Regions from separate parts of the Homo sapiens genome. Here region 2 is linked to region 1. The links are contacts of gene promoters, found by promoter capture Hi-C in blood cells and fetal thymus (Javierre and others, 2016). All regions are on one chromosome and are shown on one strand. The core of a region is centred on a gene start or on the middle of the fragment in contact, and the rest is flanking DNA. Distances in the headings are between cores, read along the strand shown. Region 1 holds the start of COL24A1 (collagen type XXIV alpha 1 chain). Region 2 overlaps LINC02795 (long intergenic non-protein coding RNA 2795).

Region 1 (5,522 bases), core at 138-2,637:
CTAAAATTATTTCAAAATAAACAGTCAAAAAATTGAGGGGGGCATAATGAATTTCTATATTCTTGCATTTAAAAAATTACCAAGCTTGAGAGTCACATCAATCATTGTCATTCACCAATATGATCACTTTAACCTTTATAATGTGTGTGTAATGTGGGATCCCTTTCAGCATGTGGAAGGGTCATTAGCTCTGGAAGGCACACAGGCTAGACAAGAAAAATTTGGAGCAATGATTCTCAGTGATATGCAGCATTCATTCAACAGATATGCCAGGTAGGTGCTAAGAACACAACTATGAACAACACAATAGATTCCTGGCCTCTTGGAGTTTCCAGTCTTATTAATAAGGAAGATAAAATCAGAACGTTTGTTTTCTGTTTGTTTGTTTGTTTGTTTGTTTGTTTTTGTTTTTGCAAAAATCAGAAGGTGGATTTCTTAGTATAAGGCCATGGGGGCATAGAGACTTGTATCAAAAGAAGAAATTTGCTACAAAAGTTGGAGAAGGTATTCAAATTGTTAAGGTAGTGGTGTGTGCGTGTGAGAGAGAGAGAGACTGTGTGACTGTAGTGTGTGTGGTGTGCTCTTGCTGTGAACCAGTAATACTTGTAGACAGGAAAAGGCAGAAAGGTGAATTACAGGAGAAAAGTCAGTAGAAGGTCGTAAGGGGGACAGACTGAAAGGAAGGAGTAAAGGGAGGAAAGGTAGAAATGAGGACAGTTAAAGTCATTTAATAATACCACGTAGGCCACTGGCCTAACTGCAAAGAAGGCAAGAAGGTCGCAGGGTAATGAAGGCCTCCTCTAAGTGTGATTTCAGAAGATGTGGGTGAAAAGGGTAGAGAAAAAGATTGGGGATGAGAGAGAAGCAAGAGGGAAACATCAAATTGGGGACTGCTGAGATGGGGAATGGAGCATGAACATGGTATGGAAGGAAGGATACTAGCTGCCTATAAGTGGGAAAGGAGACCATCCGGGTCGTACCCAGGCGGAGGCGAGCGCGCCCGGGGTGCGGTGGCCCAGCCCGACCCCGAAGGGCTGGCGAACGGGGGCGCCTGGGCCGGACGCTGGGTCGGGGAAGGTTGCGGGGGCAGAGGGGGAGGTGTGCGCAGTGTTTGGTGATGTCATTGCAAGTCAGTGAGCGGTGAAATTTAACACCGGCCGGATTTGCTTGGCTCCTCTTCTTCCAGGCAAAGCAGCCGGCGGCAGTCAACGCCGAGCGCCTGCAGTTGCCACCGGCCCCCTCGCACCGACTTGATTTCCGAAGTGGGTGTGTGTGCTTGTTTGACAAACGTTCGGGCGCGGGCTGTTTCCAAGGACTTCCTCCCCCACTTCATCTCCTTCCCTACCCCCACCCCTTTCTCCTCCCAGGCCCAAAGCAGAGGACTCCACTGGAGTCACAGAGTCGCCTTTGAACCGCAAGTGAACTTGAGTGCTGCACTAGCAGCCCGGCTCCCGCTGCCGCCGGCGCCCCGAGGCCTCCCAGTGAGGTTTACCTCCTCGCCCGCCCTCCCCGGGGAGCGCAACCCTGGGCTCGTTCGTTACCGAGCCAGAGAGCTAGGAAGCCTGTCCTCCCCTTCGGGTGCTATTTCCTACCTCCTCCCGACTTCACCCCCTCCCCTCCTTTTTTTCTTGTTGCGGGTTTGAAGCATGGTTTTCATGTGATTGTTTTTTCCCTTTTTCATGGACAGTACCTGCACCCTAAGCAGTTCAGAGTTGGCTTCTGTTTTCCGTTAGCGCTTTGCTGCACGGACAAATGCATACAAATGCATTTAAGAGCCCACAGAACAAGGCGTGGAAAAGTCTCCCCCACGGCAAAAACGTAAGTAGCCCACCCGCCGGGTAGGGTAGGGGTTAGACCAACCCCTCTCTCCACCCCCTGGTTCTGCTGAGCCTGATGGAGATCTGAAGTCCGGCTCCTTGGCACTTTTTGGCTTTAGGAGCGGCCGAGTACCCGCGGTATCTTCCCCTTGTCTTCTCAGCTTGCAAAATACCGTGTTTGAAAGGATGCCTCGTGCCAGCAGATCTCAGACAGTTTATGCTAAAGCGATCTTTTGGCTCGAGAGGAAAAGCTCGCTGGCGCGAGTCCCGAGGTCCAGGGCAGCGGCTCCCTAAGCTCCAGAGCTGGGCTCCGACGATCTCTCTGGCTCCAGCTCCCGCCGCCCTCGCGCCCTCCTCCCCTTCTCCTCCCGCAGGGCCCTGTCGAGGTCCTGCTTCCCCGAGGTGCTTCTCAGGGCGTCCAGCCTGGCGATTGCTGTGACGCTAGAGGTCCCCCAGGGTCAGTGTGCGCAGCCTGGACCACTGGACTCAGGCGTGAGGAAGGGTCGCCAGCGGGGGGAAGGGGGTGGCTGCAGAACCTCGGGCGTCGGGGGGTTGTTTTACCCACGGGCTCAGAGGCAATCCCCTCTGGTTAGAAGGCCAACAAACGTTGCCCATCCGAGCCGAGGCTGCGCCCTGATCATTGCCCTGTCACTGGGGAAGTGGCACTCGCGGCGGGGACTGGGGAGGGGAGCAGGACACGGGGGCGGGCCTGCCCCTCCTGCGGAGGTTTTGGGCGGGTCCTGACGGGCACCCCACCTCCCCTTTGGGCGCTGTACCTGCTCCCATGCCTTCCCTGGGAAAAGGGCTCGGACCAGGGGTTGCGCGGCTTTGGCTGGATGCCCTGGTCCCCCTGGAAGAGGTCAGTGGGTTACACAAGTTTGCTTCTGGCCCCTGGGCGAGAAGGGTGAACGCGGCTGTGGAAGTCTTCTGCAGAGAGGCTGCCCCTCAGGAGGCTAGGTGGGAGGAGGGCAAGGAACAGAATTGACCGTGTCAGCTGAGGGCAGGCGGAGGCAGGGTGCGGAGAAAGAGCGCCTTGTGGTCGTGTTTGTATGAACATGTGCTTCCCAGCCGCGTGCAGCCCAGCCTGGCTGGGGCTCGCGCGCGCGCTCTCTTCCGACCCCTGGAAGCCTCGCTGCTGGGCTTCCCAGCTGACCACATGCACCTCCCCGCACACCCCCATCCCCATGCAACAGTGAAGAGGAAACCTCCCAATCTCCTCAACCCCGTGCGGGCAGCGGGGTGCTGGAGGCTGGGGAGTCCCTGGAGCGAGTAGAGGTCAAGCTCTGCGGGTTGCCTTCTCAGAGCGGCTCACGCAGGTCGCATGGGGTTCCCAGGCAGAAGATTTCCCGCCACTGTTCTCGATAAACATCCCTCTGTGTGGACCAGCCTGGAGAGTCGGGGGTTGCAGCCGATCCTGCGGAACTGACAGATCTTCCCGCTGATCAGGGGCGGATGCAGAGAGGCTCTAGCCCTGCCAGCCTGGAGACTCCAGGAGAGGCGGAGTGAGGCCCTCCACTTCTTGCCCAGCCAGCCTCCGCATGCGGCCCTCCTGCAGCTCCTGCCCCGAGGGCTTTCCCTCTGCCACCGCGCGAGGCCCACGCTGGTGACTAACACTCCCCTTGGTAGTTGTGACCAACCACCGGAGTTAAAGCAGATCTGCTCCTGGGTTTTGTCTTGTCTGGTTTACACTTCCCTTCCAGACGCTCCCAGAAAAGGCCCTGCATAAATTCTTGGGCAGTTTGGGGTTTGTAAATTGGGTCCAGATGATTTGGGGGGAGGGAGGCAGAGAAACCAAATAGAATGGATTGCACCGGAGGAACTTCTGAAGAAAAATTATAAAACGTGGAATGGGAAGAGAACCCTTGTGCAGAGACATGGGGATAAGTAGCAGGTTCTGGATGAAGGTGTTTGTCTCCCATGACCACCAGAGGCCTTGCAGCCCTTGGTTATCTCATAATATCCAATTTGTTCTGTTACAGGGGCCACTGGGGATGGGCTGCAGAGAATTAAGGGTAATTCATAATTACATCAGATTACAGAACTCACAGCTCCAACCACACATGCAAACTTGGGAAAGATAGCTAATGATTGGACTGAAAAAATTGTTTCTAGAAAATCCAATTTTCATAAATAATTTGGAATTTTTCCCTTTGAAAAATAATGCCACCAACCCTTCGGAGTTTGAGGCGGGGTGGGGCGGGGGGGCTGGATTTGGAAGAAGTAGCTGATTTATAATGTCAGGCCACTGAATTAAACCTTAGAGTCTCTGATGAAATCCCTGAGTTTTATTTTCCTTTTGTGGTGATGTTTTGTAAGAGAGGGAGCGCTTTTTAAAATCACAGTTCTTATTAGTCACCCAAAAACAGTTCCAGTTTAAAAGTGGATCTTTACGACACTTTCTTTTGTGGGGTCTTTTATATGGGTTGCCTAACGTGAATTTGTAGAATTAATAAAATTAATGAAATCTCAAAGTCAGCTTTAGATACCTTAATTTGACATATTATCAGAAGGTCTCTGAGGCAGGCTATTATGGTAATTAAAGACTTTTATAACCAAAAAGGAATTTTGGAATATAAAGATCTATTTCCTAGATGGCACGAAATTCTATTTTTTAAAGTTGCTTAGTTATATTTGTGTTCAAATAAATTTTTAAAATAAGCTGATGTCTCAGGGAGAGTAAATCTAATTTATGGAAAGTACTTTTGAGTGTCATTTAGACATTCTACTTGGTAATTTGTGAACGGCAGAATAAAAGTAAATGTTATTATGGGAATTAGAATAGCTGTGCTAGTTTCCTTGCCATGCCTTCCAACTATGACTTATTTTAGAATTTGTAACTCTAATGAGAAGTAAAGACAATTTTATTTTCATTCTCATAAAAGGCTAACATTATTCTGTCATTCATTTATTCATCATTCATTAACGTATTTATTCAACACATGTTTACTGAGCTCCAACTATGGGCCCAGTGTGGTTCTAGGCAGCAGAGATACAATGATTGAGTATGACAGATCCACAGTTGCTGCTCTCCAGTCTAATAAAGGAAATAGCAAATGAAACAACCAAGTATAACGAAATGAGAGGAGGATATATACATGAGGGGCACCTAGCAGTCTTGGGTGGGTGGGTAGGGGAGGAAAGGATAATACTGGAAGGAAAAGGTAACCAAAGGAAATGAAATCTAGACTGAGACCTTACTGAAAAGAACATGAAATTTACCAGACAGAAGGAACAATAAAAAGCTCAGAAGTGAGACAGCACAGTGCATTTGAGGGCCTGAAAGAAATGAAGTTGGTTGGAGTACACATTCTAGGGAAGCAGTGACTGGAGCTGGAGCTGGAGAGATAAACAGAGACCAGATTTGGAAAGGCCTTTAAACCATGTTTAACAAGCAGAGGTTGGGGAGACTTGACTTTTCTTGATTTTGGGATGAGTGTATAGGTAGAAGATGCTAGATAAGTTATGTATTTGTTGAAACTCAAGACCACCTGATACTTTCATTGACTGAAGATTATCTGATTCATTAGTTCACTTGAAAATCTTTATCTAACACTAGTATGTGCCAGGAACTTTACTAAGCTAGGCAATAGTTTAACATTCTCTGTGGTATTACTAGGACAGACTAGTTTAGATGTATTTTTCTTCCCTCCTACTGACTGGACTCTAGACACTTTGATTAAATGAAGTTCTTAAGCATTTATCTCC
Region 2 (5,955 bases), core at 809-3,308, 130 kb before region 1:
TGATCAGATTCCTCACCAAAGATTATATATAAGTCTGTTTTCTCATTGCTATAAAGAAATACATGAGACTGGGTAATTTATTAAGAAAAGAGGTTTAATTGGCTCATAGTTGTGCAGGCTGTACAGGAAGTATGACGCTAGTATCTGCTGGGCTTCCAGGGAGGCTCAGCTGGAGGCATCTCACATGGTGGGAGCAGGAACAAGAGAAGTGAGGGGAAGTGCCACACACTTTTAAATAACCAGATCTCACAGGAACTCACTATCACGAGAACAGCACCAACGGGATGGTACTAAACCATTCACAAGAAATCCACCCCAATGATCAAATCACCTGCCACCAGGCCCCACCTCCAATATTGGGGATTACACTTCGACACAATTTTTGGTCGGGCACACAGACCTAAACCACGTCAGGAGACAATATGAATAGAAAACAAACATATGAAAATATATTTAATACTATTAGTCATTAAAGACATGCAAATTAAAACCACAATGGATAGCACCACTCATTGTCAGAATCACTAAAATTTAAAAGATTGACCATACCAATATAAAGGAACTAGAATTCTCAGGCACTGCTGCTGAGAATGTAAAATGATACAACCACTTTGGAAAACAGTTTCTAAGTTTCTTTGGTTCCTAACACCATACAAACACTTGTATATAAAAGTTCTTCGCAGCTTTACTTGTAATAGCTAAAAGCTGAAAATAACCCAAATGTCTATAAACAGATGAATAGATAAACAGCTGGGTTACACTTATGTAATAGAATACTTCTCAGCAATAAAGCAGAATGAATTGTTGATATATGCTATAGCAGAATTATGCTGAGTAAAATTTAAAAGGTCAAAAAAGCATACATACTGTGTGATTCCATTCATTTAAAATTCTAGAAAATGCAAATTAATCTAGAGTGGCATAAATTAGATCAGCAGTTTCCTGGGCATCTGGACTTTAAAATTATGGAGGGGAATGAGGAAACTTTTTTGGGTGATGGACATGTTCATTATCTTGATTGTGATGATGGTTTGGTGAATGTGTATATATGTCAAAACTAATCAAATTGTATACTTTAAATATACGTGACTTGTTATATGTGAATTATACCTGAATAAAACTGTTTTATTTTTAAAAAGTTTGTATCTAAAAGGATAGTAAAACTACTCTCTTCTGAAGGCCAGATTTCTATACTCCTCAATTCTCTGGTGTAGAGATATGCATCCAGAATTTTTTTTAAAGCATGATGGAATGGCTTTGACAAAGCTATAGCACTCTGGCTAAATTCCTTATTTCCTAGGTGACCTTTTAAACTCTCATGCAGAGCCTTTTGATTCTACTTAGCACATTTCAATTAAGCTTGATAAGTTATAAACAATACATTTGAAGAGAGAATGGGACATAAAAATATTTGAGGGAGTCCCAGTGAAAAGTGATTATCATTACTGCAGGAAGTGAAAAGAATTTTGGAAAGTAGCTGGAATTTCACTCTGAAAGCATTATCTAGTAATGACTATTCATTGAGATAACCACGGAGAGCATCTTTTGTTTAATAAGTAAGGTTAAAATGTATGGACTACAAAAAGATTTATGTCAAAAATAAGATGAAAAAGGTTTTCAACTCTAAAGAGATGGTTCTTGGTTATGTGAAAATCTGATTTAGATGGCATACCTTGTTGACCCAGAATGAAATGCTTTTGAGGAAAGTCTTGAATATTACAGAAAGTAGTTGGATTCAAACTAAGTAAAATATTGGAAAGAATGTGAAAGAATATTCCAGCATTAGAGGCAAAATAGAAAGGTTCACTCCAATCCTTTTCCCTTTATGAATGTGCATGTGTCTTTGGTTTCCTAAAGTGCTTTTTGTGTTTAAATTGACAGGAAGGGAAGAACAAGTCTTAATGCCTTATGGCTCCAAGATCTGTTTTCCAGTCATTTCACATATGGCTCAGAATGTTAATAATGGAAAGTTGATCTATGTTGACTACTTGCCAACTTTATTACTTAAACTCATTCCTTGACAATACATCTTGTCCTTTCAAGGACAATTCTGGAATTAGGCTCAGAATTCTGACAGTATGACTCTTCTGTTACTGAAAATTACATCTATCATTTAAAGCATTTTATCATGCTAAACCTGTAACAAAAATTTTTGAAACATCACATTTCTAGGAACTCCTAAAGAAGAAATCATCCATTCAGTGAGAGCAAATGAACACTCCAACAGACTGAAACAAAGCATCTTTACAGGAGATGTGAATGCGAGAAAGCAAAGAGAACTACAGTCAGGGTCTCCGCTGGCATGGCCCAAGCCCACCGTGGCATGATCCAGAGAGACGAGTCAGCAGAGCACTATGGGCAGCTCCCATACTCTTCGCAGATCAACAAGCCAGCATATAACCCAGGGAGATAGATAATAGTGATGCTGTGCTCTGTAGAGGGTAGTGGCAACAGTGGGATTTCTTCTGGAATAAATCTGTAGTGAGCCAGATGTTTCTGCTGACTATATTACTTCTGACAGTGTATAATCCAAAATTGTTTCCTTGGCCTTCCAAAAAGTTTTATAAGCTCCCTAACGGCTGCAATAAATCCCTTTCTTCTTAAACTAGCTAGAGTGGATTTTTGTTCTCTACAAAACAGATCCTGCCACTAAGAACCCCACTAGTATTTGTTGCCATGATTAGGGAATAAGTTAAACCACTGTAAGGGGGGAAAAGCAGCTCCAAGTACAAGGGCTTAAATGTGTTAGAAGCTTCTTTCTCATATCACAATTCAAGATGAATACCTGGGCCATGCTCCATAAAGTCATCTAGATACCCAGGTTGCTGGGGCAACTCTGCCATCTTCTACATTTGGCTTTTCTCTCTAGGTCAAAAGTGTTTTCTCCAGTGATCATTAACTTCACTGGTTCCACATTCCAGGCCACAGAACGGAACAAAAGAAAATATGAAGGGCAAACAACTTTATTTTGAAAAACGTAAAGCAGAAGTCGTTGCTAAAACTTAGGCCCGGCGGGTGGCTGACATCTGTAATTCCAGCACTTCGGGAGGTCAAGGCAAGAGGATCACTTGAGCCCAAGAGTTTAAGACCAGCCTGGGCAACACAGGGAGATACGTTCTCTACAAGAATTAAAATAAAAAATGAAATAAATTAGCCAGGTGTGGTGATGCATGCCTGTAGTCCCAGCTACTTGGGAAGTTGAGGTGGGAGGATCTCTTGAGCACTGATCAAGGCTGCAATGAGCTATGATCACACCACTGCATTCCAGCCTGGGTGACAGAGCATGACCCTGTCTCAAAAAATAAAATAAAACCTAGAAGCTAAACCCAAACTCAAAGCCTTCTCAAGAGAATGTGGAAAATGTAACCTGTAACTGGAGTAGCCATTAATCTAGCCAAAACTTGATGGGCATGGGGTGTTCTCTTAGTAAAAGAAGAAAAGAGAAATGGACATGGGAAAAATTCCAAAACTTTATTCAAGAGGACATCATCAGCTTTTGAGACTTCAGTTGTCCCGGGCAAATGGGCTCTTACTCCCCTCTCTTTTCTTAAAGCAAAAATACCTGCAGGAAGCCGCAGAGCAGTGGAAAGATCAGAAAGCGTACTCCTCAGTCCCTCTACCTAAGTAGCAGTGAGATGGCCATAGCTATTTTTACCCTCTTACTAGAAATAAAACATTTAGATTTTGAAACACCAACTCCTCCTCCAATGTAGAGCATCCTCTGTGTAGACACTATGAGATATAGAAGTCAGCAAGGCTGGCCTGGCCACTGCCCTCTTGATGCTTTCATTCTAGGATGGAAGATTAATTTCTTGGTAGTTGATTATTTAACTAATTATTAAGAGTGCTCCAAGGAAGTACAAAATGGATATATGTATAAATGGATATGTGTCATAAGTAAATGGATATAAGTGTCATAAGTATATGACAGAAGAATTTGACCTAGGCTGAAGAGATCACAAATGCATTTTCCTCTTAAAGTGATATTTAAGTATATACAAAAATTATGAACAGATTTACCAGTGAAATTTATTTCTGCAAGTTGGCAAATTGTTTACATAACCTTCCTATTTCACTCTTTAGTTATGATTAGGAGTTTTTTTTTTTCACTTAAAAACATGTATCAAAATTGTTTGAGTAGGTATTCATTTACCTGGCTTAAACACAAAGTATGAAAATGTAGCTGGGCACCATGGCTCACACCTGTAATCCCAGCACTTTGGGAGGCTGAGTCAGGAGGATGGCTTAACTCAGGAGTTTAAGACCAGCCTGGGTAACATGAAGAAACCCCATCTCTACCAAAATACAAAAATTAGCTGGGCATAGTGGTGCACACCTGTAGTCCCAGCTACTTAGGGGGCTGAGGTGGGAAGATCGCTTGAGCCCAGGAGGTCAAGGCTGCAGTGAGCCATGTTTGCACCACTGTATTCCAGTCTGGGCCACAAGGTGAGACTCTGTCTGAAAAAAAAAAAAAAAGAAGGAATAAGAAGAAGGAGAAGGAGGAGGCGGTGGTGGCAGAGGAGGAGGAAGAGGAAGAAAAAGAAGAGGAGGAAGAGGAAGAAGAAGGCTTCTATGGGGAAGTTTAGGGAGAGTGGCTTCTCATACAGGAATTGTCTTTTGTAACATACAGGCTAGAATCTTCAATGTGCAAGACAATCAGTAAAGCTTCACCATTCAGAAACCAATCAATGTCCTTTTCAGTATCAGTTAAGTTACATCTTAGTTATGGAACATCAACAGTTTGAGGAACCCACTGTAAGATTTCAGGGATTCAGGATAAGTTTCTTTACTCAAGGATAGGATGTAAGCCATGAATCATAGACCTCCCCCAGGTGGATTAATTTGGAAACCTGCCAAATGTGACATCTAGGTTATCATATCCTTGATAAGAATTTGTATTTATCTGAAAGCTAATAAAAATAATTATCTTTCTTCTCATTTCAAATTACAGATAATAGGAAACTGTACACATTTTACCTCCTGCTCGAGCTTTTTTCACTTACTATAGCATGGAGATATTTTGATATAATATATTGATAAAAAAGCTTTTTTAAACAAAATTATAGTATTCCATTTTATAGATATACTATTAATGTATTTAACCAGTCCCTTATTGGTGAGCTTGTAGATCGTTTCCAATATGTTACATTATAAACAGTGCTTCAATGAATTATATCCAAATGTCATTTCATTCTTATGTGTTTGTATCTATAGGAAAAATCCTAGCCCATTTGAAATTTACCGTGGGTTAGGGTGTGAGGCATACATCAAACCACATTTTTTCTCCATCTGGCTTCCTGGTAGTTCCCAGATGACTCGTTGATAGCACCTCTTTTTCTCACTGATTTGAGATACCACATTTATTATATACTAAAACTCCGTATGGATTTAGGTCTATTTCTGACTGTACATTCTGTTGTGTTAGTCTGTTTGCCTATTCATATGTCATTATAATAATAATCACTGAGGCTTTATCTGACAGAGAAAAATCTTCCTTTGGTGCTTTTCTTTTGCAGAGATTTCCTATTTTTTTGTTTCTATTTCCATATGAGCTTTTTCTGTTTTTTGAGACAGGTTGTTGTTTTGTTGCCCAGGCTGGTCTCAAACTCCTGGGCTCAAGCAATCCTTCTCCCTTGGAATAGCCGGGATTACATGTGCATATCACCATGCCTGGCTTACTTTCATCTACACTTTAAAATCATTTCTGGTCTAGTCTGGTTCTAAAAAAACCCAGATTTTACTTTTATTGAAATCATATTAAATTTATAAATTAACTTAGAGAAGTTCGACATCTTGATAATATTGACTCTTCCTATCCAAAATGCCTTTCCGTTTGTTCATGACTTCCTTTTATCTTTCAAAGAATGTTTTAATGTTTTAGTCTGTAGAATACTCAGCCTTGAACATTTCTTTTTAGGCTCATCACCTCGCTATGGGGTCTTTTCTTCTTCTATT

What was found. The method cuts DNA at HindIII sites, captures the fragments that hold promoters and counts their contacts. A CHiCAGO score of 5 or more calls a contact.
Region 2: a contact is called between a fragment that was not itself captured here and the fragment with the promoter of COL24A1 in region 1, in 1 of 17 cell types (megakaryocytes). The highest score is 6.1, in megakaryocytes.

Annotation. Positions count from the first base shown.
Region 1 is chr1:86,152,637-86,158,158 of GRCh38, reverse strand. It overlaps COL24A1 (collagen type XXIV alpha 1 chain), which reads left to right and starts at 1,387. Exons shown (of 60, transcript NM_152890.7): 1 at 1,387-1,818. The coding sequence starts at 1,763. RefSeq lists a cis regulatory region at 5,176 and an enhancer at 5,092-5,261. The HindIII fragment of the contact is 10,806 bases long and covers 87-5,522 here.
Region 2 is chr1:86,285,357-86,291,311 of GRCh38, reverse strand. LINC02795 (long intergenic non-protein coding RNA 2795) reads left to right here. Exons shown (of 4, transcript NR_187380.1): 4 at 2,173-2,605. Among named protein-coding and RNA genes, the nearest start is that of LINC02795, 31 kb to the left of the region's middle. The HindIII fragment of the contact is 1,393 bases long and covers 1,362-2,754 here.